Linked DNA regions of Homo sapiens: all the other regions are linked to region 4. The links are contacts of gene promoters, found by promoter capture Hi-C in blood cells and fetal thymus (Javierre and others, 2016). All regions are on one chromosome and are shown on one strand. The core of a region is centred on a gene start or on the middle of the fragment in contact, and the rest is flanking DNA. Distances in the headings are between cores, read along the strand shown.

Region 1 (3,181 bases), core at 233-2,732, 340 kb before region 4:
TGCTCCAGCCAGGGCTGAAATGGGAATCCTGTCCACCAAAAGCCGGGTGACCCTTTTATGACATTCTCATCACAATTGGAATTATCCCCTTCAAAAGAGACCATGCCACAGTCTTCCTTTTAAGCAATAACACAAAAGGAAGTAGAAAATGTAGATGCAATAGTTCATTACAGTTGGAGCCCTATTTTCTCTTATTCTTTGAAGATGTCCCATTTATATTCAAGGTTTTGATCAGACTGGAAAGAAAACACATTTACCAGTTTAGTTGGTGTTGTGTAGAGAATTCTAATGTTGAAACAGTGAAAACAGCGTTTTTCTTCATAGTGAGTGTTTCCCAAGCAGTTTTTACACTTGGGATGCACTAAGTGAGGCCAGTTCCTCCAGGGACTCACATAGTCCCTTAGCAACCTACAAGGGATGAGAGTTGTAAAAAAATGTGCTTTGGTTTGAGTTCTCAAGAAAACAAATGACTTCCTTCCTTCTAGACTTTAAAGAAAGATGACACTGAAGTGGAGCTACTGAGGCTGCCTAGAGACCACATCAAGCCTGCAGACAGAGCCAACACACAGCTGAGAAGATCAGGGTCTAGGGAGTCACTGGAAATAAATGTGTGAGAGAGACAGAGAGAGAGACCCACCCGCTGAGTGGCCAAGGAGTCCTCATGAAGCCAAATCTGAGGCCACAGCCACCCACAGCTGCTCAGTGAGTTTCGTTATTTTTCTCAAATTGTGATAAGACATACATAACAAAATTTACCATCTTAGCCATTTTTAAGTGTACAGTGCTGTAGCATCAAGTACATTCACTTTTTCGTACACCAACTATCTCCAGAACTTTATAATCTTACAAAACTATAACTCTTTCCCCATTGAAATAATTTCCTATCCTCCACCCAAGTCCCCACCATCCCACTTTCTGTATGTATGAATTCAATGACTCTAGGGACCTCATGTAAGTGGAATCATACAGAATTTGTCTTCTTGTGACTGACTTACTTCACTGAACACAATGTCCCTGAAGTTCTTCCATGTTGTAGTGCGTGTCAGAACGTCCTTCCTTTTTAAGGCTGAGTAATATTCCACTGCATGCATAGATCACATTTTGTTTATCCATTCAGCTGTCCCTGGACACTCGATAGCTTTCACCCTTTGACTTTGCGAACAGTTACATTTTCTCCTCTCTTGTTCCTTTAGCCAGTTTGAGTTGGGACTGGTTACTTGCAACAGGAAACAGACTCAGTGACACAATGTCCTTGCCTCAAAGCTGCTTCCAGTCCAGTGGGAGTGCAAACAGACAGGAATGCACCAGCACAGGGCAGTCAGGCCAGGGTGAGGGTATGCAAAGCAGCACCAGAAAAGAAAAGAGCCATCTGACCCTCCTCAGGGAAGCTTTCCTTATGCTGAGCCAAAACAAAACAAAAACAAAAACCCACAAACAGAGGAAGTATTGCCCTTCACAAGCAGAGAGAGAACCTGCATAAGAGGCTTTGAGAGCCCTGGGCTGATTATCATGATGGAGAATGGAGGTTACCATAATGTATACACCACGTCCACACAGGAGTGGACAGCGGTCAGAGAAAGCTTCAGGCAGCTCAAGATGATACCGGCGAGGGTCTATGCCAATGAAGAGGCTGTACCTAAGATGCTTGGTTCCAAGTCTTTAGTCCGCAGAATAATTCCAGTCTCATAACTGGACTTGTCCACAGGACAGGAAGTCTTGATGTTTTCTGTTTTCAGGCAGAATTCCCAGAGAATCTGGCTTTCCTTTAGAAACGGCACATGGGACACAGATGACATGTGCTGAACTTTGCCACAGCCCTTCTAAGGAAAGGTCACTTTAGCCTGGTGGCTCAACAGCTGAAGTCCCGAGGAGTCCTGGTCCAGGATCATCATTTTGTCCTACAACCACTGTCTGAGTCCATGTGCACCGCTATATAGGAACAACCGAGGCTGGGCAATTTATTTTAAAAAGAGGTTTATTTGGCTCACGGTTCTGAAGGCTGTAGAAAAAGCATCTGCACCTGGTGAGGGCCTCAGGAAGCTTCCATTGATGTGCACTCTGCACACCCTCACCCTGGCCTAACCACCCCATGCCAGTGCATTCCTGTCTACCTCCACTCCCACTGGACTTGTGAAAGGAAGCTGGCATCACATGGTGAGAGGAAGGCGAGAGAGAGAGAGTGAGAGAGTGATAGAGAGAGAGACAGAGAGAGAGAGAGAGAGGAGGGGAGGTGCCAGGCTCTTTTTGACAATCAGTTCTCGTGTGAACTAACAGTGAGAACTCACTCGTTACCATGAGGACAGCACCAAGCCCTTCATGAAGTATCTGCCCCCATGGAGGGGACAAATATCCAAACTGTATCAATGACTGCACCATGGAAGTCTAAATCACATAAGGCCCAGGGGGAGAAACCTCCCCTGTAATCTCAGAAGTCTCTTACCATGACTTGAAAACCTTATTCTATGTGGCAGATTTCAATGGACCTGAATAGAATCAAAGACACCCTTAAAGGACCTGCCTGTCTAAGAACCCCTGTGGCACTCGGGGCATCTGCATCCCTTATGCCCACCAGCCCATGTGCCAGGGACCACAGGCAGCTAATGGGGGTTTCTCATGTAGTTTCAGAAACTGGAAGACTGCTGCTTTTGAGAGAATATCACTGGTCAGACTCTAACCAGGTCCCTAACCAGGCGTTGCCATCTTCACCCAGTATTTCTAAAGCGTCCTGTGAGCAATGAGGAATGCAACACTGGGAATCCTGTGTTAGGTAAGAATTCGAAACCTCAGCTTCACTTAAACCCTTCACTCAGTTAACAAAAAGATGTACTCTCATTGCAGTAAATATAAACAGAGACTCAGAATGCATTTTATCTTTGTTCAGAAAACATAAGTTATCTTTATAAATTATCACTATTTTACTAATAGTGACTATCTGCGCGGTGCTCAGTGGGCTTACTTGACCCTCAGAACAACTCTTAAAGGTGTGCACTCTCGTCCATCTATACCTGTGAGGAGGCCGAGGCTTCAGCACTTCCCCTCACCTGCACCTGGAGGGAAACACACGCACCACCCAGCTGGAGCAGGACTCAAACATGATTCTTGGGTTTCCCACCTCTAGCTCATTAGCACGAACCTCATTCCTTTTCCTTTTCACTCTGTCCACAGCTCTGTGAGTTAAGAG
Region 2 (3,309 bases), core at 586-3,085, 300 kb after region 4:
CTCACCCTCACCTGCCCACCTTGTTTCCATCAAGGTGTCCTTTCGTCTGGAGTGGTTTCTCCACACTGATTATTTGATATAGACAACTGGTATTTCATGAAGTATGAATAGAATCCTCTTAGGAAAGGACTGCTACTTATGTGAGCCCAGATCGTATGATGGTACATGCCAAGGCAGACCCAGGACAAGTCCCATGGTCCCTCTCAGCTTCCCCATGGAGCTGAGTTGGAGCACCACTGTTTCTCTTGGTTATTTCAGACCTGTCCAGTGTGAAGGGAGGCCCACCTGTCATTTGGGACAGGTTAAGCCACCAAACATCTAAGAATCACACTGGGCATTTCTTTCTAGATTTAAGACTGCATGCTCCAAAAACTGGTAAAGCCCCAGGTAGGAGCTGCTGTGGGAAGGCCAAATTTGAACTAGGTGAAGTGTTAATGAGGAAGTCCAGCATCCCATCAAGCACTTCCCTCACGAGGGCCCCTTATGTGCTCTGCCTCCTTGGCAGGGTTTATTTGCAAACAGTGAAAGAAGTGAACAGAGAAAAGACAAAAACACAAGGTAGATGCCCTCCACTCTGTTCTGGTTCTCACTTCTGTCTGGTCATGTTTTTCTTCCCCTGTAAGGGGAGGATCCTCCCCCAGAAGGCTTCACTAGAATTTTCTCTCAGCAAGGAAGATAACCAAAAAGATAATTTTAAATTGAAACTAGTATGGTAAAAAGTGGTTAGTGTATATATGTAGCCTCCTTTAAATTTTTAAATAGCTTGAGGTTAGAAACACAGGGCTGTCTGGTCACAAGGTTTGAGCCCTAAGGTCACTGGATGATGTCATGGTGCGCTAAGACACGCCAACCAAACCTCTATGAGCCTCGGAAGAGCCATGGAAGTCACCCAGTCTGCACTGTGTGCTGCCGTGAACTGGCAGCCTCTGGTTAGCAGCGTATTTTCACTGAGAAAAAAGCCAATTTTTGCTTGTTTTGTTTGGTAAGGCTTATGTTATGGTTTAAGTGTGTCCCCTAAATTCATAAGTTAGAAGCTTGGTCCTCTGCAGTGGTGTTGGGAGGCAGAGCCTGATGAGAAGTGATGAAGTCACAAGGACTCTGCTCTCATGATGGCTTAATGCTGTTACCAGGAGAATGAGTTGTTATCAAAGATGGTCTGCCCCTCTTGCCTCCTTTCTGTCTCCTGCACCCACTTCTGCCTTGTGCCCTTCTGCCAGGGGACAATACAGCAAGGAGGCCTTCACCAGATGCATCCCCTTACCTTACTTTGGACACCCCAGCCCCTAAAACTGTAATTACTCTTTTCTTTATAAATGACTCAGTCTGTGGGAATCAGCTATAGCCACACAACACAGACTAAGACCGCTTATAAATGCTCACATTTTACGCTTCCCAATTTAGAAACCTGCCAATGAGTAATGCTATTTTCTCTTATTCCAACCACCACAGGTGGTCAGCATGTTTAGTCACTGTTAGAGAAACTGTCTCAAGAGGCTGAATGACTTGCCCCAGACTAGGACGCTGGAAAGAGCCAAAATCCATTCCCAGATCTTAGGGTGTGGAATTCAGCATCTTTCCAAGCTACATATGCTGGTTATGGTTGTAAGATTGGTTCATTTGGTGCTACAGGCGAATAGGAACTAGATTCCAGGAAGGCGGCTACATTTTCTCGTGCTACCCACAGGGTCATCTTCCTTACTGTCCAGTGATTTGTGAAGTCCTGTGCGTGGCTGGTCTCTCCCAGGATCTTTTAGCCTACAACTTAATAACTGGTCACTCTGCCCTCACTGCAAAGACTGTTACAGACACTGATTGATCCTCATCCATGTTGGGCCCATGGTAAAAAGAGATGATTCTGCAATGTGGTGCCACCTTATTGATCGAGACTCCAGTATTCTAAACCTGGCATAACATCAAAATGACAAATAAAAAGTTTAATTTTCTATTTATGAAAATAAGGATGTGCTGTGAAAAGAGTCTGAAGTCCAATGTTCGGGAAACTGTAATTGCCGAGTGAATGTGTAAGGCACTCAAGTAACAAATATTTATTATTTAGTCCCTTAAAAATAATTTACTTTATTACAAAGATAGTAATACAATTTCTAGAAAATACATGCATGTACAAAGATTGAAATAAAAAAAACACTCATAAATATCCAGATTTAAATGTCAGCATATACCTTCCTGATCTTTTTCTATCATACTGTATCTATCAACATCTAACCTGCTTTTTTAACTATAAGTCATACATTTTGCCATATCAGTACACTTTTTTCTGTAACATTATTTTTAGAGCATATCAAACCATAGTTTATTTAACCAATCCCCAATTAATTCATAATTAGAATATTTCGTGTTTTTCCAGTATAACAGTTCTATAATCTTTGATTATAACCTTTGTGTAAATTCCTATAAGTATTGAGTCAAAGGAGACACACATCTTTTCAGGCATTACATATAAAATAAATACTAAACTAGACTCCAGGAAAGTGGTATCAATTCACATTCCCAATAGCACTGTCCCAATGGGGCTAATTTATCTCCTTTTTAATCTCAGCGTATTTCCAGTTATAACATACCATTTTTACCTCTTGATTCAACAATTGTACTTAGAAGAAGCTCTAAAAATCCAAAACTGAAGCTTCCTTTTAGACCCTCCCTATTACAATCCGTATGAAAGTACAGAATTCGAGAGTGACATCAGCCAAACGGAGAAGTGAAGCTTACTGGCTTCTCTCCCTACCACATAATTTCAACTAGCAAATACCCAGTGGCAAGATTATTGCCCTGAATATCCCAGAAATTGGGAGTGAAGCTGTGACAACTCACTGGACCACAGAGCCAAGAAAAACCATGAACAGAGGGTAAAGAGAATGGTTCTGTTTGATCATAACACCTCTCCCGCAAGCCCACATAGCACCGCACTTGGAGAATTTCTCTGGAATCAGTTTCTACAGTGGGAAAAGAGAGCGGGAGGTGGGCATTCACCTTCCGCACCATTCTGAGACTCTTCACAGGGGCACACTATGGTCCTTTCCCCCTGGAAGCACTGCAGGTGCCAGCAGGGTTAGCCTGCTAGGTGTAAATTAGAAACAAAGAATGGGGGTGGGGCTCACAGCAGTCAACAAACAAATCACAGAGTGGACTGCAGGGAACCTGGGCTTAGGGCACCATTTGGCACTACACGGGCTGTAGCGTTCACGGGCTTAAAGACCAAAAAAGACAGTATGCTTACAATTTCTGGACAGACCTACTATACAAGGACAATCACAGACAAAGCCAGATTGCAAAGACTGTTTATAAATACCT
Region 3 (2,984 bases), core at 426-2,925, 290 kb before region 4:
TGGAATATTACTCTGCCAGGAGCAGTACTGAAGTTCCCACATGGGCTGTAACACGTCCGGCTCGAAAACATCACACACCACGTCACAGGAGCCAGCCACAAAAAGCACATACTTTGTGATGCCATTTATGTAAAATGTCCACAGTAGGCACATCCCCAGGGACAGGAGGGGATGAGTGAGTGCCAGGGGTTTGGCAGGGAGGTGTGGACAGGAAGTGACTTCAGGGGGTATAAGGTTTCCCTTTGGGATGACGACAAATTTCTGAAACTAGATAGTCATGATGGTTGCACAGCAATGCAAATGTCCTTACTACCACTGAACAGTACACTTAAAAATGATTAAAATGCTAAATTTTATGTTACATGTATTTCACCACAATAAAAAATTAATGAGTATTTTTTAAACCTGAGGGATGATTTCTGTTTTCTACTGTGGGCCGGACCAAAGATTTTCATCTCAAAATTCATATGACTTTATTGTGAATTACTTTCTTTTTATTTTTCCTTTGACATGAGTGTTAGGGTGTTAAATTTAGTTTTCAGTATGTGCTTAAGGAGGTTATATTCGCTATGACTTTCATCTCAGAAGAGTAAAGATGGCGCTAGAAGGTATCTGTTATAGAAACGATACTTCATTTTGGGCCTGAACCAGTGAAGGTCCCTTGATGTAGCTATCACGGGCAGTGTGGACTGAGCAGAAGGTGGGCTGGAATCCACACCTCAAAGTCCCAGAAGGCCCAGATAGCACCTTCTCCTCTGTGGCCCTAGCCTCTCAGCAGTGTCTTCAGAGCGCCCACCAAGGTGGTAGGGTGGGAAACCAAGGCCCCCTGCTTTGCAGAGTGAGAGTATCTGGGGCAAATGGAAAGCTTCATCAACTCTAAAATTTCAAAGTTGGTTTTATGCAATAAAAAGAAAGTAATTGCAATGGCAGTTTCCCCAAGCAGACTGGAGTTTCTCATTCTAAAACGTTTTCCGAATTGGACACCCACAGAGCTCCCTGCAGTGCAGTGGGCTGACTCGGTTATTAAATGTGCACTCACATACACATGACCTGTTCATACCCACGGCCCTAAAGCATCGGGGTCTGAAGGTGGAGAGGAGCTGTGTCTAGTCCTGACCCCTGGGCAGGAGTCTCTTTTCAGAGTTCTCAAGGCACATAAATATCCCATCTCTCTCAGAAACCTCCAGAGACTGAAGCTCACAGATGGAGAAAAAGCCTTGTTTTGCCAGTGGTAGCAAACAAAGAGCAAGAGTCCCTCACGGACGCATGTCCAGCGCCCGGGGCCCTGGCTCCTTGGCTCCCAGACCTCCTCTATCCTGGTTCTCTGATGTGAGTACCAGGAAGTCCCTTTATAAGACCTGGGTCCTAGGACCTCACTCAGCTCCCTGGAGGGGGTGGTGGCCAAGGGAAGCATCTCAGAATAAAGGTGACCCTGGGCTGACTGAGACCATCCAGAGACAGCCCCCAAAAGGCAGAGGTGCTGCCATCAGCCCTGGTCTCTTGCTGACGCCTGAGTCCTTGGAGGGCTCCAGGAGTGTCTATGCCTGGTGCTGCGGTCACTCCTCCATCCTCCACCTCAGATGCGCACGCTGCTGTCTTCCCCCATGCTCTGAGGGCCCGGCACTGGCAGGATGATGCCCATAACTGGGCACTGCTCAGTTATAACACACAGTACGGAAATAACGACACCTGGACTTTTAGAAAGTACCATGGATCCCCTGTGTCCCTAGCACGGATCTGAAACCCCCATACCCAGATCACTAATAGCCAAATTCAAGGCCCCTTCATTCTTCCAATGTCCAGCTGCTACGGGCGCAGGCGCTGGGGCCCACTTGCTTACTTCCCTCCCTCCCTCCTGAGATTCTTCCTCTGCAGAGTTGGAGGCCAATGCCACCCCATGGAACCCCCATCCTGCCTAAATGCTATCCTCCATTGTCTCTGGGACCCTAATAGAGCTCCCAGGCTCAGTGCACCTTCTCAGTGCCTTCTCTTCTGGTAAGACAGTAACCATGCCAAAAAAAAAAAAAAAAAACAAGCAAGGGCCCAGCCCAAGACCCCAAGGCTCGCCTCTGCCCTCAGGGAAGAGCCACACTCCTTGGCCCCCATCCTGGCCCTCCATGGTGGGGCCTATCTGCATCTCCAGCCTCACTCCCCAGCACTGAACTTCCCTGGCACACTATGCTTTCTCCCGGTCTGCCTCTCCTCCAGACCATCTGCCTGGTAAGGATCCCTCTGCCTCACAAGGCCTGGCTGAGAGGCTCTGGCTGAGCACCCCCAGCACGTTCCCCAACTCTGGAGTTGAAATGAGGTGGGACTGTCTGCCTGTCTCCACTTTGTGAGGCTGTGAGCCTTCTGCCACGGAATCAGAGCTTGCAGATAAGCTGCTTTCTGAATCCTAAAGCGCTCTTCCAGCTTTCACATTTGGTTCCTTTGGTTGGGGTTTAGCACACAATTTAAATCAACGGGCTCTCCATGGTCAATTATTAAAAGCTTACAGTTTCCATTGCTCTGAACTTTCTTTAGGATGCACAGGTTATCAGCCATGGGTTAGCACTAACAGAGCAGATGCCGAGTCTGGGAGGGACATTAAATGCCTGGTGGGAATGCCACAGCACTATCTGCAAGCAGAACAGGGCCTGCCAGGTTGCTGTCATCACAGGGTGGAGGTTGATGTAACATGAATAAAATATTTTGACAACATGAAGCAAAGAGCCCTCAAGGTATGAAAAAAAACCACAGAACTGGCTTTTTGCCACCCACGGAATCATGAATTTCACAGGTTGAGTCATTTCTTTTGTTACTGGGATATCATCAGTTGAAATATTCTCCCACTTAAAAGGGTATGATACAAAAAACCCACCACGTGCAGGCTGAAACCAGGCTGAGACCCAGAGTGGGGCGGGGACAATGAGCCTGGCAGCAGCACCCAGGGGCTCTTCCACAAAACACCAGTGGCAGCAGAAGTCAGACCAGAGTGAGGGAGC
Region 4 (3,279 bases), core at 87-2,586:
CAGAATGAAAATGAAGTGTTACGACCTCAACCTCCCTCTCCCATCACCCGCTGGGCAAATGCCAATGTCACATCCTTTAAACTGACTTCCTGCCTCCTAGGTCTCTGCCCTGCCTGGTTTAGATCGAAGTGATTAACCTTCTCCCGGGAGCTCGGGGAGGGAAGTCTGGCTGAGCCCTCTTGCCCTTCAGTTCTGCTGTCCTCCTCTACCCAGGTGGGTATTTGACAAGTTTGTGGATTTCAAGCAAAATGTATCTAAAATACATTGTCTTACAGTATGAACTAGAGGAAACAGTGTTTGAATGTTATCTGTTTCTTTTGGAACCAAATCATTGGGTTGGATGATTTATTAAGAAGTGAATCATCCGGGCCGGTGGCTCACGCATGTAATCCCAGCACTTTGGTAGGCCGAGGTGGGCTGACCACTTGAAGTTACAGGTTCGAGACCAGGCTGGCCAACACAGTGAAACCCTTTCTCTACTAAAAATACCAAAAACTTAGCTGGGTGTCCTGGCACACACCTGTAATCCCAGCTACTCAGGAGGCTGAGACACAAGAATTGCTTGAACCTGGGAGGTGGAGGTTGCAATGAGCCGAGATCACACCACTGTACTCCAGCCTGGGCAACAGAGCGAGACTCCTTTGTCTTGAAAAAAAAAAAAAAAATTAAAGTGTCCCAATCTGGGGGGAGGAACAGGGTCACTGCTATGAGAAAGCTAGAGATGGCCTAGGGTCCTTTCTAAAATTTCCTCTGATATTCCTCACACTTTCAAATGATTTCTCCTTTCTTCCCACTCCAGCCACAGACTGCTAGGAAGTACAGTATTTTTTCTTTTGGAAGAAAAAGTAAATGGGAAGGCACAGGATTTTTATTAATGCTGTTACTGATTTTAAAATAAGCTAAGAATGTGCCGTCAATCCAGTTGGCTGCTCCCTGCCGCCCACGGAGCCTGTAATCACTGCCTTACAGCTCACGAGAACAATGGCAACACAAGCAAACCACATCTGCATTTCCACATTCTGAGCAGCAGGTCCCTGAAATAGAGGCAGGGTACGGGAAATTATAGGACTTCAGTGAAACTGTAGGATTGCTGGGATTCCCACAGGCGCCCAGCCCTGGCTCGGGGAATATTTGAGTGTGGGAACTACCCTAGCATCTCTGCACTTACAGGAGAACCAGGGGATTCACCCGTCATGAGAGCAGAGCTCCTATACCCTGGCATCCTGCGCCCCAGGCACCCGAGGGATCCTGGGAAAACCCAAAGCTATGTGGCTAAAACTCCTGCTTTGGGGCTCAGGGTTCAGGGGGTACGCTAGACTCCTCTCCCCATTCGATTCTTGCATTTGGCAGACGAGTCACCCGGGCAGTGGGATGAGGATGGCACCAACAGAGTCAACAGAAGGAAGACGGCTCTGGCCGGGCCCCAGGGAGGGAGGCAGCGGTCAGGACAGTGGTCTTTGTGGGGCCTGGGAGGTGTGGATGCTGGGAGGGATGTGGGGGTGGTCCTGGATGACTGTTGTTCTTTCTGGACCTGGGAAGTGGTTACATGGGCGTGTCCACTTCATGATAATTTGATTTTTTGTCTTTTTTTAAAATGTTTGCTATCCATCAAAATTTGAAAAAGCTCCCAGGGCTTTGGTAACTCCCTGTGGGGCAGAGAGAGTCCACAGAATGTCAAGGCTGGATTTTCTGCCAGGCTGGAAGGAGGAGGGCTCAGGGTTGTATTTGATTTGTTTAGGAGATGGAAAGAAACTGGCCATGTCTTACACAAGGGAAAATAGTTGTTTTCCCAACATCTGGGGTCTCGAAGGCACTCGAGAAGTGATTACTTTGGGGGGTTTCTGCTTCTCCTGGCAGGCTGAGCTGTTCTGGCTGGGAGGCCTCACTTGTCTCCCCGTCCACACTGCTGGCCCGTGGGGTCTCGCGATGGCTGATGCTGATGTATGGGAAAGCCACGCACCCCAAGAGACTCCATCCTCCCAGTAAGCACTCCATGGAGGAAAGAGAGAGGTGGTAATCAATAAACTTGAGTCATTATTGATATTAGTTGTATTGAACATTTACCACGTGGCAAGCAGGGGTGCCGGGGAAAAAACGACTAAAACCTGGGAGGAAGTTTTTTTTTTTCTTTTGAGACGGAGTCTCGCTCTGTAGCCCAGGCTGGAGTGCAGCGGCGCGATCTCGGCTCACTGCAACCTCCGCCTCCCGGGTTCACACCATTCTCCTGCCTCAGCCTCCCGAGTAGCTGGGACTACAGGTGCCCACCACCACGCCCGGCTAATTTTTTGTATTTTTAGTAGAGATGGGGTTTCATCGTGTTAGCCAGGATGGTCTCGATCTCCTGACCTCATGATCCGCCCGCCTCGGCCTCCCAAAGTGCCGGGATTACAGGCGTGAGCCACCGCGTCCGGCCAAGGAAGGTATTTTTATTGGCCACAATTAACAGATGAAAAAGGCGAAGATCCAGGTGTGTTTGGAACTTGGGCCAGGTTAGGGGGTTACACAGGCTCAAGAACTGCCTTTCACTTGTTTAGATTCAGTCAAGACCAGAACAAAGAGAAACACGGAGATTTCTGTCCAGGAGTGGGCCTTCAGGGACTGCATAGCTTCTCAGTGCTCGACTTGCGTGATGGGATAAGTGCTCTTAGAGCTCACTCACCCCTTCTGTCATGTGAAGACACAGGGAGATGGCATCATCAATGAACGAGAAAGTGGGCCCTCCCCAGACAGCGAATGTCCTGGCACCTTAATCTTGGACTTTCAGCCACTAGAACTGCAAGAAATAAATTTCTGTTGTGTGCGAGCCATCCAGTCCATGGTACTTTGTTACAGCAGCCTGAAGGTACTAGCAAGCCTTAAGAAAAGTATCAGAAAATGGCCGGGCGTGATGGCTCACGCCTGTAATCCCAGGGCCTTGGGAGGCCGAGGCAGGTGGATCACGAGGTGAGGAGATCGAGACCATCCTGGCTAACACGGTGAAATCCCGTCTCTACTAAAAATATAAAAAATTAGCCGGGCGTGGTAGTGGGCGCCTGTAGTCCCAGCTACTCCGGAGGCTGAGGCAGGAGAATGTCGTGAACCCAGGAGGCGGAGGTGGCAGTGAGTGGAGATCGTGCCACTGCACTCCAGCCTGGGCAACAGAGCAAGACTCCGTCCCCCCCCGCAAAAAAAAGAAAGAAAATGGTCAACCTGTCTCAAGAGCCTCAAGATATTCTCACTAAGGTGTTGTTGATACCCTTGGACGTCTCTTTCTGTACACACATGCACTTGAGCACATGC
Region 5 (2,989 bases), core at 56-2,555, 400 kb before region 4:
GTCTGGTGTTCTGGGGAAGGTGTTAATACCAGAAATAGGGGAGCAGGGGAAACACCCCAAGTTTGCTTGGTAGGATCTTGCAGAGGAGGCTCAGGAGCTGAACTGGATAATTCAAACAAGTCATCTGGCTTCTCAAAAGTCCTCATGGGGAAGTGTCAGATCATGCAGGTGTCCACAGTGGACTGGGACCTGGGCAGCACTGAGTTCCCCTTACTGACTGCACCATCCATGAGCTGAGCCTGCCTTCTGGGGAAGGAGGGGCATCTCCAGGAAGGGCAACCGGGCCAGGTCAGAAGGCCTCCTGTGTCTCCGGGGCAGTGTGGTCTTCTTTCAGGAGAGAGTGAGTCATCACTGAAGGAGAACAGAGCGAAGGCTGCACAGTCCAGCAGTACTGGGCCCAGACTCTCAGCCCCTTTCTGGCCCTGCCACGCTAAGATAGGATCATCTCCCTCATGGATGCAGCTGATGTGTGCGTGAGCACACGCTTGCCAGGCAACTGGCCAGCACCGGCTGTCTCTGCAACGCGGAATTTACAAATGCCCTTCCCGTGAGGAAGGAAGAGTAACCCGATTGATTCTCCGCTACCAAGCAAGCCCTCTGCCACTTTACAGTGCAGTAACTGCTTACAATGATTCCCCTTCTCGGGAATCGCTTTTCTAGCTCTTCCTCTACAGTCGGGGAGCTGAGCCCCCAGAAGCCAGCAGTCACACTAGTAGGGCAGGGCAGAGCCCGCTTGACCCCTTCCTTGGGAGGGGGGCCTAGCGCCGGGGCGCGTTTCCTCTTCGCGCTGCCCTGTCCTGGCCCGCCACTGGAGCCGGTAGCCCGCAGGGCAGCGGGGGCGGAGGCGACCCTGGGGGTGGCCTGTGGGCCCCCCTGCGAGATCTCGACGGTTCCTATCTATTCCATTCTCCCTCCCCGTCTCCCTGAGCCCCGCCCCTGGGTCCCTTGCTGGAGCCGCTCACCCCCTCCCCCGCAGGCGTTGTGCTGGGCCCGGGGCAACTTCCCCAGAACGTCCGGCCACCCTGCGCGGAAGCACGCCTGGCAGAGCTGCTGAGCCAGGCTCAGGTCGCGGAGTAGCGGCGCTCCGGACCGGCGGAACACGGCGTCCTCGGCTCAGCTTCGGAAGCGCCCCCGCCCCGCCCGGCGAGCCCGGGAATGGCGCGCGCGCCCCCTGCCGGCCACACCGGGACCAGCGGCACCCACAGAGGGCGCGCGGGCAGGGCGCGAGGCGGCAGGCCCCTCTCTTCCTCCCGACCCTCGCAGGCTGAGCACATCAAAAGGCAGGCTTCCTTATGGGTGCTTTCGTTGAAATTCAGCATTGTGGCCAGTCTTGAAAGTACAAAAAAAAAAGAGGGCAAATGTGCTGCACCACTTTAACACAACTTCAGTGACCCTGTTGTCTTCTTCTCTCAGATCTTCCTTCTGCTGCTGTATCTGCATTTCCTCATAACGCCAACAATAATGAGAGCATGGCCCGGGAACCCGCAAACTTTTTTCTGGAAAAGGCCAGATAGTAAATGTTCCTGGTTTTGTGAGCAAGATGGAAAATCGCCCATAGACAATATGCTGAGCCGACTGAGCCTGTGCCAGTCCCTGGGAGCCGACGCTAACTGGAAACAGCCAGGCCAGTTGTGCAAACTGCCCACTTGTTCATTAAATCGAGGCAGGTGTGACTTCAAGGCTACCACTCTCTGGTCCTTGTCAGGTGCAGGCTCTGTTAGAGGTTCCTGCCACATCCCTGCCTGGGCCACAGGGCCGTCCCTGGGTCCCCAGGTGTCTCTCCAACCATAACCCTGCCTGGGCCCTGCTATGTCATTTGAGCCATGAGGCCCCTGAAGATCAGTGGCCCCTGCTGCCCTGGGCCCACAACCTGTCACTAGCCTGTTGGGGTTTAAGGGTGAAAAGAAAGACCTCAGACACACATATGTGCACATGCATGCACAAACACACGCATGCACGCACACACACGAACATGCACCAACATGCGGACCCACTAACCCGGAACCACTGGGTTTCTGTGGCAGTGAGAGTAGGAGAAAGGCCTAGGATGCAGCTTGTAGTGAACTCTTATAATTCCATGTTACCATTCCCAACAGAGGTTTAACTTTTTCCTACCAGAGGCAGGGCTTACTCACCCTTAACACAGTTTCCAGCTCTCCACCTCCTTCCAGTTCCTCAATGTGATCAATCCAGACATCTGCCTTATACAAACACCTCCTGGTGACCACTGCCCTACGAGACAGCTGGATACAACCTACTTGACTCACCCCACTGACCCCACATGGACCTCACAGATATGCTGCAATGACCACCTCTCAGTCATGGCGTGATTACATGGAACCGGTGCCTGCTTGCTCTAAACCCATCAATTAGAACTCCCTATGGGAAACCTGCCTGGGGTAGACCCCTGGACCCCACTTAAGGCCTCAGCTTACAGGTCCTCCTCTCTCTCGATCCCCACCCAGTGGTTGTGTGTGTGTGTGCCCCAGGCAGCTCCCTCCATTCCGCTAGCCATGTGAGGTATTCTGCCTTCTTCTCTCTGGGATCTGTGAGGAATATGCTGCTTCTGTGACTCTATGTGCTTTGTCCAGTTGCCTCCTCTGTCTCCCCGGACAGATGCACCAGAACCTAGCTCCTCTCCTAGTCAGGGCTGGCCTAAAGAGTGGCTATCTTATTGGGAATAGCTGGAAACAGGTCAGATGGGAGCCACAAGGAGTCTGCCAGTATGAACAAGATTCCTGTGAGAGCAACACCAGACCATGGGTCTCACCCTCAGGCATGAGGCCACCTGCCAGGATAAAGAAGAATCTTGTGAAAGGCGTGCTGTACACATCCACCACCAAATCCCCGAGGCCCATTAGGTGGGGCACAGTTTATAGGAACTCTGCAGAAAGAGACCACAAGACCAAATCAGAAAGAATCACAACAGCCTCAGCCACATGGTTCCCTCCATGAGCAGAGGCACCCACAGCACCGAGGAGAGGGGAGG
Region 6 (3,209 bases), core at 691-3,190, 260 kb after region 4:
GTCTTGCTCTGTCGCCCAGGCTAAAGTGCAGTGGCATGATCTTGGCTTACTGCAAGCTCTGCCTCCCAGGTTCACGCCATTCTCCTGCCTCAGCCTCCTGAGTAGCTGGGACTACAGGTGCCCGCCACCATGCCTGGCTAATTTTGTTTTTGTATTTTTAGTAGAGACAGGGTTTCACCGTGTTAGCCAGGATGGTCTCGATCTCCCAACCTCATGATCCACTCTCCTTGGCCTCCCAAAGTGGTGGGATTACAGGCGTGAGCCAACGCGCCCGGCCAGGCATATCTTACTTTCAAGTTGACTTTTTTTTTTTTTAAGATAGAGTCTCACTCTGTCGCCCAGGCTAGAGTGCAGTGGCATGATCTCAGCTCACTGCAACCTCTCCTCCTGGATTCAAGCGATTCTCCTGCCTCACCCTCCCAAGTAGCTCGGATTACAGGTGTCCGCCACCACGCCCAGCTGATTTTGTGTGTGTGTGTGTGTGTGTGTGTGTGTGTGTGTATTTTTAGTAGAGACAGGATTTCACCATGTTGGCCAAGCTGGTCTCGAACTCCTGACCTCAGGTGATCCACCTCAGCCTCCCAAAGTGCTGGGATTACAGGCATGAACCACTGCACCTAGCCTCAAGTTGACTTTAGACTTAACCCCTGATAAAAGATGTAATACTGATATAGTTCGGATGTTTACCTCTCCCTAATCTAATGTGTCGAATTGTAATACCCAAAGTTGGAGGTAGAGCTTGGCGGGAGGTGACTGGATGATGGGAGTGGATTCCTCATGAATGGTTTAGTACCATCCTTTGGTGGTGTCCTTGCGATAGTGAGTGACTTCTCTTGAAATCTGGCTATTTAAAAGTGTGTGGCATCTCACTCTCTCTCATTTCTGCTTTTACTGTGTGCTGTGCCTGCTGCCCTGTAGCCTTCTACCATGATTGTAAACTTCCTGAAGCCTCCCCAGAAGCTAAGCAAATGTCGGCACCCGTGCTTACTGTAAAACCTGCAGAACCGTGAGCCAATTAAGCTTCTTTTCTTTATAAGTTACCTAGTTTGAAGTATTTCTTTATAGCAATTGGAGAATGGCCTAATACAAATACCAATTCCTTACTTTATTCATAAAACAACAAAAGAAACCAATGAATATGTATCAAAGTTGCAGATGCTTAAAATTATTATAATAGAGCAAGTCCTGATGTGAAATAGAGATATACTTAGCCTTCTACTTAATCTTCTAGGAGTTAATCCAAAAACAAAAAGGAAAACAGTGAATAAAAATAAAAACTTTTTCTCTCTTTGTTTAGTGAAACTAGGAGGTAGCTAGCATGTTCAGAATACAAAATAGACGCAAAAACTGCTAAAAGCGGCAAATATCAAGCATGCATGAGCAGGAACCGTATTGAAGGAAGAAAACAGAAAACGTCCTAAAGTGAGAACTCAGTTGCCAAAGGGCTCAGTGGCTGTGAATATCATCAACACGCATACATGTGTGTACGCAACACACACACACACACTCCACCAGCAGTTAGTTCAGAAAAAAATGCAACTCTTTAAATTATGAGTAATGCTGTGAAGAAAAAAAAAAAAAGAAAGGAAGGAAGAAAGGAAGGAAGGCAGGAAAGAAGAAGGGAGGGAAGGATAAAGGGAGAAAAGGAGGGAGAAAAGACCATTCAGCATGTACAAGATACTATAAGAGTCAAGAGGGAAAATTCAGGAAATACTCATAATAGATTAAGATAATTTATCAGAAAAACACTGTCCACAAGAACAGGACTGAACAACTTGAGGAATCGTTATCTTCTGAGATGGAAGACCAGAGAGCATCTGGTCTTGGAAGGAAACAAAGTCAACATTTTAGAGTATAATGGAGAATGGAAAGTGTAGAACACAAAAGAAGGGATGCAGAGGAAAATATGAGGAAAGCGGATCAGATGAAAAAGGAAAAACAAAAAAGATTTGAAAAGACAAAAGAGAACTAATAGATGTATGCCAGTCTCCCAAAAAGAAAGCTGACATATTGGAATAGAAACAATGTAAAGATCTAATTCAAGAAATCTTTCCTGAAACAAAGGACACATTGAAAAGGTACACCATGTGCTGGAGAAAGGTGACCCAGAGTGGCCAGCACTTAGACACGTGCTGGCAAAGCTGCTGGAGTTGCAAATAAAGAAATAACTACCGGCTGGGCACGGTGGCTCAGACCTGTGATCCTAGCACTTTGGGAGGCTGAGGCGGGTGGATCGCTTGAGGTCAGGAGTTTGAGCCTGGCCTGGCCTTCATGGTGAAATGCCATCTCTACTAAAAATACAAAAATCAGCCAGGCGTGGTGGTGTATGCCTGTAATCCTAGCTACCTGGGAGGCTGAGGCATGAGAATCACTTGAACCCAGGAGATGGAGGTTGCAGTGAGCCGAGATCATGCCACTGTACTCCAGCCTGGGCAACAGAGTGAGACTGTGTCTCAAAAAAAAAAAAAAAAAAAAAAAGAAAAGAAATAATTCTCATGACAATCACAGAAAAACATTAATCAATGACGGGGAAAAAAGAAGGCTGACTTTGGAATCACCACAAGGTAAGAAAGACAGAATGGAGAATTTCAGGGAGGCTTCTTCAGACAGAGTGTCAGGGCCACCAGCTGAATTTCTGATTCAGTAGGTCTGCAGTGGGCCTGAGAGTCTGTATTCTAAGCCAGTCTCAGGTGGTCATGATGCTGCTGGGCCAAACTTGGAGAACCATGGTTACAGGAGAGAACAGAATGGAAAGACAACCAGATTCCCCAGGAAAAGAACATGTGTCCAAGGAGTCCAGAGCCAGCACACTGTCGTTCCAACATAATGGCAGCAACAGTTTTGAATATGGGAACTTAGAGGAAGCTTATTGCATGAATTTTCCTAAAAAAAATCTACTAGAGGACAAACTTCAGACAACCAAACAGGAACACCATGCCAAAAAAAAGCTGAGTGAGGACCGAATATATTAGCTCTAGAACCGGAACTAAGACTAATGTGGGAAAGCAGGTTGATATGATTTGGATCTGTGCCCCCACCAAATCTCATGTCGAATTGCATTCCCCAGTATTGAAGGTTGGGCCTTCAGCACTGGCGGTGAGGAGGTGGGTGGTGATTGGATGATGGTGGCAGATTTCTCATGAATGGTTTAGTGTCACCCCCAATCCCTGCCACTTGGTACTGTCCTCATGATAGTGAGTTCTCATGAG
Region 7 (3,222 bases), core at 675-3,174, 370 kb before region 4:
AAGTCAGATGCAGTCACAGGTCTGAGAGCACTGAGTGAACAATAAAGTGCTGTGCAAGGAATATTCCTTAAGGAAGGACTCCACATGGTCACTGATACGACCCCCATAGAGACCTCCTTCCAGGCTCACCTGACAGCCCTTAGTCACTGACATGACCACCTGGGGCATTCTCCTCCGGCTCACCTGCCCAGCCCTTCCTTCCAAGAGTGCTATCCACCCAGTCCACATGGTCCCCAGAGGATGCCCAACTCAACACTCTGCTGTGTCCAGGCTGGGCCAGTCTAGCTGGCTTTGGGGTCACCCCTCTCCTTCTGGGAATGACTCTGCACCGGCACAGAGTAAAGCTCATCTGGAGATGAAGAGAGAGGCCAGGAGATAGGCTAGGGCAGAGGCAGAGCCTGGGTGTGCTTCAATTCAAGGTGACCCTGCAGCCACCTGCAGCCCCTCTCAAACAGGTGCCTTTTAAGGCTGATTGTTGGTGAGAAGATCCCCCTTTTGTCTAGAATTAGCCAGTCTGAACTCAAACGCTATCTCTTACAGTATGAAAGATCTGAACTGATGTGGACATGACCCATCTCCAGGGAATATAAAGAATACAGGGAAACTAAAGAGACACAGAAAAAAGACAACTCTGACAAGGGCACATAGAACAGATCCTGTGAAGAAATAACATATCTTCCAAGGGCAGCAGGGAGGAGGGAACAGTCAACATTGTGAGGGTCCTTAAGGAGCCCAACCCTGACCCTGAGTCTACCATGTCGCCAAGCTATGCCTCCAGACCCTGAGTCCACCATGCAGCCTAGCCATGCCCCTGACCCTGACCCTGACCCTGAGTCCACTAGGCAGTCTAGCCATACTCCTGACTGTAAGCCTGAGTCCACCAAGCAGCCTGGCCATGCCCTGAGCCTGACCCTGAGCCCACCAGGTAGATGATCCATATCCCAAACCCTAAGTCCACCATGTAGCTCCGCTATGCCCCTGACACTGACTCTGAGTCCACCGTGCAGCTGAGCCACACCCAACGGGAACCCTGAGTGAGCCATGTAGCCGAGCCATGCCCCTGACCCTGTGTCCACCATGTAACTGAGCTATGCCTGACACTGACCCTGAGTCCACCATGCAGCTGAGCCATACCCAACTGGGACCCTGGGTGAGCCATGCAGCTGAGCCATGCCCCTGACCCTGAGTCTACCATGCAGATGAGCCATGCCCCGACCCTGAGTCTACCATAAAGCCAAGGCACAACCCTGACTCTGACCCTGAGTCCACCAAACAGCAAAGCTATGCCCCCTGAACCTGACCATGAGTCCACCATACAGCTGAGCTATGTCCCTGACCCTGAGTCCACCGTGAAACTGAGCCTTGCCTGTGACCCTGACCCTGAGAACACAGTGGGGCTGAGCCATGCCCCTGACCCTGAGAACATGGTGGGGTTGAGCCACAACCCTGACCCTGTCCCTGCGTGTGCCACACAGGGCACTTGCTGAGTGCCCTTTTCATTTGAGACACTAAACCTTGAAATAGGTATTTTGGTGCAGGATTGAAATACGAGAGCATCAAGCATTGGGACCCTGCCCAGGGTCATCTACTGGTCAGTGTCAGGGGCACTGAACGGGTCTGACCAGCAAAACCCACGTTCTGCTTTGTGCTCATTTTTTTCAGCAGATGAAGGGTGATGAGCTAAACCTGCCTAAACTCACTTATTCCTGAAGCTACAGAGGGGAAGATCCTGCCTTCAACCTCCCAGGTGGTTTGGGCAGATGAAGAAAATGTCTTGCTTCTAGGGACATGGGCACCACAGAGAGGCATGGGGGCCCTGCTCGGGGAGCATCCTGGGAAAGCAGCCAGGCTGGTCTGAGTGTCCCCTGCCGGCCTGTCTGCTGTGATGGCTGCTGCCATCATGCTGCTGCCACGGTTGATGCCAACGTGCCTCCTCAACCACACAATACAAAATAATTGCATCTGAAATGCTCTGTTCCTAGGCCACAGGCTGCACTCAGGGATGGCATTCTGGAGGGAGGGAGACAGGAACAGCCCTGTGGCTGCTCTGTTCCATGCTTATGCTGGGCATTCAGTAAAGATCCACATGGAGAACATCTGCTCCAGCATAACTGGCTCAGTAACAGCTCAGGCGTAAGTCATTTGAAATTGGCCAACGGAAATAGTACATATCAAGGTCATACGCTCACCTGAAAGGAAATGACCCTCTGTTAAAACAATAGGTTCCAAGATCATTGGACTCTGATCATAGTATCAGAGTGTTTTTAAGGAACTGAGTTAAAAGATTTTTTGCATTTGCAATTATGTGTGTATGTGTGTAATTTTAAAACGCCAAACGTCTTTTTTTATTTTATTTTACTGATTTCTAAGAAAAATAGCCTTGCAAACAAATGCTAAGAGTTCCTATGTGGTTCCCAGGACGTATTTAATGACAGAAAAATACCTAGACAGACCCTGGGTGACTCATGACCTCAAAGACGGCTAATGATTTACCTGGATGACTACTCACACTAGGGAAGAACAAGAGGAACGTGACAGCCCCGCCCCTGCTGGACGGCTCCTGCCTCCCTCTAGGCACTCACTTCCTCTGATTGTCTGTCAGGGTGATGCCCTGGGCTGACACCTTGAAGTGCACAACTGTGGACACAGGTGGAGGCTCCTGGACCAGGGTGATGCTCAGGGCCTTCTGGATCGCCTGGTGGCCGGTGAGGGACTCCATCTCCACAGAGTTCAAGTACCACACATTGCAGGCTGGAAGACACCAAGGGAGACACATGTTAGTTGCAACTATTGGGACAGGTGTGTCCTGTTAACACACAGGCAGTTGCTGATGTGCAGACTGGGTTTATGAACAACTTGCGCATGTGGCCTATGCTGGGTGCATGTAAGGCAGATGGCCTTTGCCCCTAATTCTGAAAACATGAACAGTGAGTGCTCCAAGGATGCACTTACTCCCATGTCAAGGCAGAGAATAAGCGAGTTACTAGAGCAAAGCAGACCCGCCTGGTGTGGCTTTGCCTTCCCACCAGCCAGAGGGAGCTTTCTATTCGCCCTGCAGCAGTATTAAACCCTCGTGTCCCAGGTGGAGCCCAAGGCACCTTCTCTGGTCTCAGGGTGGGTATGGACAACAGTCACATTAATATGAAACCCAACTACTGTTATAGGTAAGGAGCCCAGAGGCCCTTGAGAAACAACCATGAGGGAAGCATGTGTCCTCAAATC

What was found. The method cuts DNA at HindIII sites, captures the fragments that hold promoters and counts their contacts. A CHiCAGO score of 5 or more calls a contact.
Region 1: a contact is called between a fragment that was not itself captured here and the fragment with the promoter of LINC02902 in region 4, in 3 of 17 cell types (total B cells, naive B cells and fetal thymus). The highest score is 12.9, in total B cells.
Region 2: a fragment that was not itself captured here is called in contact with the fragment with the promoter of LINC02902 in region 4 in 1 of 17 cell types (total B cells); the score reaches 6.2 in total B cells.
Region 3: a contact is called between a fragment that was not itself captured here and the fragment with the promoter of LINC02902 in region 4, in 4 of 17 cell types (total B cells, naive B cells, M0 macrophages and 1 more). The highest score is 10.7, in total B cells.
Region 5: a contact is called between a fragment that was not itself captured here and the fragment with the promoter of LINC02902 in region 4, in 3 of 17 cell types (total B cells, naive B cells and erythroblasts). The highest score is 17.4, in total B cells.
Region 6: a contact is called between a fragment that was not itself captured here and the fragment with the promoter of LINC02902 in region 4, in 3 of 17 cell types (total B cells, naive B cells and M1 macrophages). The highest score is 8.9, in total B cells.
Region 7: a contact is called between a fragment that was not itself captured here and the fragment with the promoter of LINC02902 in region 4, in 2 of 17 cell types (total B cells and naive B cells). The highest score is 10.4, in total B cells.

Annotation. Positions count from the first base shown.
Region 1 is chr7:47,317,212-47,320,392 of GRCh38, forward strand. All of the region lies in intron 20 of TNS3 (tensin 3), which reads right to left. Among named protein-coding and RNA genes, the nearest start is that of SNORD151, 150 kb to the right of the region's middle. The HindIII fragment of the contact is 192 bases long and covers 1,387-1,578 here.
Region 2 is chr7:47,953,310-47,956,618 of GRCh38, forward strand. It overlaps a transcript of PKD1L1 not described here. Among named protein-coding and RNA genes, the nearest start is that of PKD1L1, 6.5 kb to the left of the region's middle. The HindIII fragment of the contact is 1,607 bases long and covers 1,033-2,639 here.
Region 3 is chr7:47,359,193-47,362,176 of GRCh38, forward strand. The region is part of intron 17 of TNS3 (tensin 3); the gene reads right to left. LOC124901629 (a long non-coding RNA gene) reads right to left here and starts at 2,013. Exons shown (of 2, transcript XR_007060319.1): 1 at 1-2,013. The HindIII fragment of the contact is 1,625 bases long and covers 864-2,488 here.
Region 4 is chr7:47,653,908-47,657,186 of GRCh38, forward strand. It overlaps LINC02902 (long intergenic non-protein coding RNA 2902), which reads left to right and starts at 1,337. Exons shown (of 3, transcript NR_171030.1): 1 at 1,337-1,441. The HindIII fragment of the contact is 4,908 bases long and covers 1-3,279 here.
Region 5 is chr7:47,253,429-47,256,417 of GRCh38, forward strand. It overlaps LOC124901628 (a long non-coding RNA gene), which reads right to left and starts at 1,186. Exons shown (of 2, transcript XR_007060318.1): 1 at 963-1,186; 2 at 1-351. RefSeq lists a silencer at 1,068-1,247. The HindIII fragment of the contact is 6,901 bases long and covers 1-2,989 here.
Region 6 is chr7:47,910,361-47,913,569 of GRCh38, forward strand. All of the region lies in intron 8 of PKD1L1 (polycystin 1 like 1, transient receptor potential channel interacting), which reads right to left. Among named protein-coding and RNA genes, the nearest start is that of PKD1L1, 37 kb to the right of the region's middle. The HindIII fragment of the contact is 1,845 bases long and covers 1,019-2,863 here.
Region 7 is chr7:47,281,115-47,284,336 of GRCh38, forward strand. TNS3 (tensin 3) reads right to left here. Exons shown (of 31, transcript NM_022748.12): 28 at 2,583-2,751. Among named protein-coding and RNA genes, the nearest start is that of SNORD151, 180 kb to the right of the region's middle. The HindIII fragment of the contact is 9,538 bases long and covers 1-3,222 here.